Linked DNA regions of Homo sapiens: region 2 is linked to region 1. Evidence: promoter capture Hi-C in 16 types of primary human blood cells and fetal thymus (Javierre and others, 2016). All regions are on one chromosome and are shown on one strand. The core of a region is centred on a gene start or on the middle of the fragment in contact, and the rest is flanking DNA. Distances in the headings are between cores, read along the strand shown. Region 1 holds the start of MAPK1IP1L (mitogen-activated protein kinase 1 interacting protein 1 like). Region 2 has its middle 2.3 kb from the start of TMEM260.

Region 1 (2,822 bases), core at 219-2,718:
CTAGTTTGGCACAAAACTTACATGGTGGCAAAATGTGACCTGAAGCTATTTATAGTTTCTATTCGCCCCCACTTAGAATGAATGTTCACATCTATTGCTGCAAATATTAATGTTGGATTATGGGGTGCCCCACTCTGCTGGGGGTGTTATCTCTCGTCTAACATGACTTTCTAAAAAGATGAAGATAAAATCCAAGTATTTTTGAATTCAAAACACACTAGCTTCAAAAGTTTCAGTTAAGAGACTGGGGATGGATTTTACCCATTCCGCCTGGAGTGAGGAAAAGAACATTCCAATATTTGCAATTCACTCCAAGTTTCTGAAGCAAACTCGCTTTGCATTGTGGGCTCAGAGATGCCAGCATGAAAAATTTCTATTCTTCCCCCAAAGAACACCAGTGAACAAAGAACTTATGAAATGTTTCTGAAGGCTACCTTTGCCTGTAATGAGGGTTCCTTTTCGAAACAGACCTTTACAACCCCCAGGTGTGTATTTCTCTAGTAGTAAAACTAAAAAAAATTCTTGCGGTCGAGTGAGCCTGGCTTCATGCTTTAACACTGGAATCTTTACCTATTAAAAGCTGTACTCTTGCTTTTCAAGGTAAAGAGGAAAACGGTCCAGCTATGCATACGCTATCGCAGGTATGTGCTCCTCAGTCCTAAAAAAGGAGATCACTGAATTCTGCCCTTCTCGTGGTTTGCCCTGGGTATTCATCTAATGTATCCGTGAGCAATTCCTCTAGTAAGTCATAACCAGAACGTTGTCACACTGCGGATTAACAAGCGCCCGAGACTCTTGTAAGAATCTTTTCAGGCCTTTCCCTTTTTATTAAAAATTAATGAATGAGTGTAATAGGGTGGGGGTAGAGGGGAAATCGGGGCCAAGGGGCGCGAGGCCGGCAGCCGTTTAGGGACGCACGAACAAAGGGAGTCCGGGATCAACCGGAGCGAACCGGCCTCCTAGCGGGTCGCGCCCGCCGGGAAGGGGTGGGGGAGGGGCCGGCCCGCGCCCGCCCCGCCCCGCAGCCAGACCTGACGTCAGGCGCCCAGAAACCCGTCGGGCGCGACGTCAGCGGCCTCCGACACCTTCTCCCTGGGGGGCGATCCCCAGGCAGCCCGCAGCGTGGAGGAAGGCGACCGATAGAAACGCTTAGTCCTGGTGCCAGGCAGGCGACCACGGCCCGAGCACTGGACGTGACTCGATGCACCTCGGTCACCGCGCCCGCTTCCCGCTTGGCCGCGCCCGCGGGCTCCGCAACCCCAGCTCCCCGATTCCCCTTCACGACTCCCACTAGTACCGAAGCAGCCTCACCCGGCAATATCCGAGACCGCAGTAGGGTCTAGAAGCGGCGATGGGTCCGAGGGACTGGGCCCTGAAGACGCGGGCGCAGCCTGACTGACGGCAGCTAGAGCAGCGGCGGCAACAGCACCAGCAGCGCGCGGCTCCTCCTGGCGCCGGAACAGGAAGCGCCGAGCGCACCGCCTCCGCCCGTTCTCCCCCTCCCCTCAGGCCGCGCCGCGTGCGCCTCCCGCAGGCCCCTGGCGGTACTGCGGCCCGCCAGGCCTAGGGGGATGGGCTCCACCTGGCGCCGGCTCCGGGCCGCTTTCCCCTGGTGGGCGGGCTAAAAGCTCCCAGAGTTTCCGGAGTTCCGAGGACTCGGAGGAAACGCCAGTGGCTGCCGATGTTCACGGCTTCCCGGCGGAAATTGCTAACTTGTCTTGAGTTGCTTGAGGGCTGATTCTGGATTCCTTTTGCTCAGCGGTTTTTACAGCTAGGCCTCGAAGGAGGCTGGGTATGGACGCGGTCTGATTTCGGCCTGACCCGAGGACTCAGATCCTCGGGCCAAAAGTGGGGAGAGGGAAAATATTAATACAGGAAAGGGAAGACGTTTGCAAATAGCTTGACAAATTGATATTTGCTTTCTTTGTAGATTTTTCCTCATCAATGCCTCTTCTCCCATGTTCTTTTTTGTTGTTTTTGAGACAGGGCCTCTGTCACACACGCTGGAGTGCAGTGGCGCGATCTCGGCTCACTGCAACCTCTGCCTGCTGGTCTCAAGCAATCCTCCCATCTTAGCCTCCGAGTAGCTGAGACTGCAGGCATGTGCCACCACATCCGGCTTATTTTTGTGTTTTTGATAGAGATGGGGTCTCACCCTGCTAGCCTCAAGCGATCTGCCCGCTTCGGCCTCCCAAAGAGCTGGTATTACAGGTGTGAGCCACCGTGCCCAGCCGCCATCTTCATTTCTGAATAAACATTACCTCCTGTGTCAGGCACAGATGACATGACCCCAGTCAAGGAACCTACTAACTAGCAATAAAGATGTCGTGATAATTATATGGTGTGCAAAATATATACATATATGCAATATACTTTTTTTTTTTTTTTGAGACGGAGTCTTGCTCTGTCGCCAGGCTGGAGTGCAGTGGCGCGGTGCGATCTCGGCTCACTGCAACCTCCGCCTCCCGGGTTCAAGCGATTCTCCTGCCTCAGCCTCCCAAGTAGCCGGAACTACAGGCGCGCGCTACCTTGCCCAGCTAATTTTTGTATTTAGAGACGAGGTTTCACCACGTTGGCCAGGATGGTCTCGATCTCTTGATCTTGTGATCCGCCCTCCTCGGCAAAGTGCTGGGATTACAGGCGTGAGCCACTGTGCCCGGCCAATATACATTTTTTAAGATATAAAAATATCCTAAAAGTATGTGGTACACTTGCATCTTGCTTTGTGTAAGGCATTAGTGAGTGAGTGGGTGGCCATTTAACCATGAACTTGTTTAAAGGAAGACATCCCTGGATGTTTTCCACAGCACACACAATTCTCA
Region 2 (2,822 bases), core at 225-2,724, 1.5 Mb before region 1:
AACCAGTGACAATCTCAAACGTGTTACGCGCAATTTGATAGAGACACAGTGACTAAACTATAGAGTAACATATACCTACCTTGACGGTCATGGGGCCAGCACACCTTAGTCTTTTCCAGGTACTTATACAATTTCCAGCCTTTTCCAGGTAATTTCTCAGCTGTACTGTGAGTTCCTGGAGGAGAGGGGCTGTGTGGTAGAGTGCTTCTAAAATGGATTCCCAGATAACCCTGCCTCCTCACTCACTTCCTGTATAAGCTGCTCGCCTTATGTGTGAGCTTAACCTAAGGATTGGCTTCTATCAATACAATAAGGCAAAAGTGATGGATGTCACTTTCAAGATTAGGTTATGAAAGACTAACTTTCATCTTGCTGGCACTCCCTCTTGTCCTCTCACTTGTTCTCTCTGATGAAGCCACCTACCATGGTGTAGGCTGCCCTGTGGAAAGGTCCACATGGGAAGAAACTGAGAGCCGCCTCTAGCCAACAGCTGGCAAGAAACTGAGACCTTCAGTCCAACAACCTTAGAGGAACTGAATCTAGGCAACACCATGTGAGGGAGCTAGGAAGTGGATCCTTCCCCCACATAAGCCTTGAGATAACTATAACTCCTGTCAAGACTTGGATTGCAGCCTGTGGATGACCCTGAAGCAGAGGACCTAACTAAGCCTCATCCAGACTGCTGTCCTATAGAAACCGCGAGATAATAAATGTTGTTTTAAGTTGATAAATGCAGGCTAATTTGTTAGTTATCAGCAATAGATAGTTAAGATAGGCTGTCTTCTATTTCTTTGCTGAAAGAACATGCCAATGAGTAACCTTGACTGGGTCAAGCATATACTTCTTTCCCTTTTTATGCATTTCACTTTTGCTCATGAGTTTTATTTAAAATTTTTTTATTTTGGAGGGGAATAATTCTTTGTCCATGTTTGGGAGGTAGAGATCAGTGCTGGAAGTACAAATTTAGGAGTTGCTCGTGTAAGGATGATATAAATGACTAACTTGATAAGGGGATAGTGTAGAGAGAACAAGGTTGAGGTCTAATGTCAGCCCATATTCTCATTTAGGGAATGGCTGGAGAAGGGGAGAGAACAGTGTAAGAGAATGAGGCATCACCAGAAGCTAAAGAAGAAAAGTCGATGAAGTACATGTGGTCAGGATGTTACAGAGAGGTAAAGGACAATGAAGAGAGGCACGTCTAGATTTTGTGAAGCTCAAGTGTATAAAACTTGGAGAATTATATGTAAGTAAACTGATATAAAACTGCAGATACAGAATTAGGCACAAGATATTGGAAGACACCTGGGCTAGAGAGGAACTGTGAGGCCTAAGCTTCATTAGCTTCATGGTTGTTTTCCTTTGAAGATTAAGAACTTCCAGTTCTCTGTTTATGTCTGACTCTACCTCTCAGTAAGCATCTGACTATTCCTTCCTCCCCGGAAGTATTTTCTTTTCTGGCCTTCATTGATAGCACACTCTTTGGTTTTCCTTTTATCAATGGCCTCCCTGCCCTGGCTCTGCTTCTGTCGGTCCCCCAAATGCTGAAGTATTCCTGGGCTGTTCTAGACTTTTCTCTCTTTCTGTCTTCTTTCCCGAGATGATCATATTGAAGCTTTAAAGGGCAACTATGGGGCAATATTTCTCAAAATTAGACCTCCTCTGCTTCTCTTTTTTAGCGACCGATTATTTTAAAAAACCCAACTGCCCCCGACCTCTCCATTTCTATGTCTAAATAGCCTGTCAAACCTGATGGACTTTGTCTAATTTCCACCATATTTAAAATGATGCCTGGCACAAAATTGGTGCTAAACAAATATTTATGTAATAAATGAATACATGAACAATCAGAGATCACTGGCATATCCGTTAGGGATTGCATTTAGCTACTAGTGACAGATCCTGCTACAGTGTCTTAAACATTAAAACAATCATTCTCTTATATAAAAGAAGTCAGAAGTCTATAGGAAGTCAGTCTACCACTGGCTTGGCAACTCCCTGATTCCACTAGGGACACAGCTGAAGTCCTCATATCTTTCTGCACCATCCCACTCAGCTCACATTCTCAAGGTCATCTACTGATCCAAGGTGGCTGCTAATGCTCCAGACATTACATCTGTTCTTGAGGAAGAAAAAGAAAGGATGGGAAGAGAAAGGCCTGCTCCAGCTTTTTTAAAAAAGCACTATTTTTTTAAATGCTATTCCACAATTTTGCTATATCTAATTGGCCAAAATTGAATAACAGGTCACTCCTAGGGGCAAAGGATGCTGCGAAATAGACTTTTCAGCTGGACAGTTTGCCTAGAATTCTATTACAAAGGAAGAAGGGGAGAATGGATACTGAGGGGCAACTAGCAGGCTCTGCATGGTTGGATTTGGTGACCTGGAGGTATTTGAACCTTGAAAGTTCAAGAGGTCAGCTTCAGTAGAGTAGTATCTACAGAAACAAGGTACTAGTGGGCTAAGAAGTGAGCAAATGGAAGACATGAAAATAAAATACATTTGCAAAAAGTTTGGCAGTGAAGGGAAAGAGAGAAATAGCATGAAAATTCACAGGGATCGAAGTGTCAAATGAAGATTTTTGAATGTCTTGTTTTGTTTGTAACTCAAGGGAGTATTTGGAGAGACATAGTGATGAAGTAAAGATGTACAGGTTATTGGAGAGGATGGGACTGAGGAGGACAGAAGAGAAGGGTTGAAGATAGAAAATGTTAGAGATAAAGAGAGAGACCTCATGATGTCTCTCTTTACACATGATGTGTAAACATGTGATCGTTGGACTTGATCCTGAGACAGACCAATAAGACATATAACGAGTATTGATT

Evidence for each region. The method cuts DNA at HindIII sites, captures the fragments that hold promoters and counts their contacts. A CHiCAGO score of 5 or more calls a contact.
Region 2: a contact is called between a fragment that was not itself captured here and the fragment with the promoter of MAPK1IP1L in region 1, in 1 of 17 cell types (fetal thymus). The highest score is 6.0, in fetal thymus.

What each region holds. Positions count from the first base shown.
Region 1 is chr14:55,050,293-55,053,114 of GRCh38, reverse strand. It overlaps MAPK1IP1L (mitogen-activated protein kinase 1 interacting protein 1 like), which reads right to left and starts at 1,468. Exons shown (of 4, transcript NM_144578.4): 1 at 1,312-1,468. RefSeq lists silencers at 898-1,057, 1,408-1,647 and enhancers at 1,678-1,877, 1,417-2,106. The HindIII fragment of the contact is 10,117 bases long and covers 1-2,822 here.
Region 2 is chr14:56,576,082-56,578,903 of GRCh38, reverse strand. No RefSeq gene overlaps it. Among named protein-coding and RNA genes, the nearest start is that of TMEM260, 2.3 kb to the left of the region's middle. The HindIII fragment of the contact is 280 bases long and covers 1,335-1,614 here.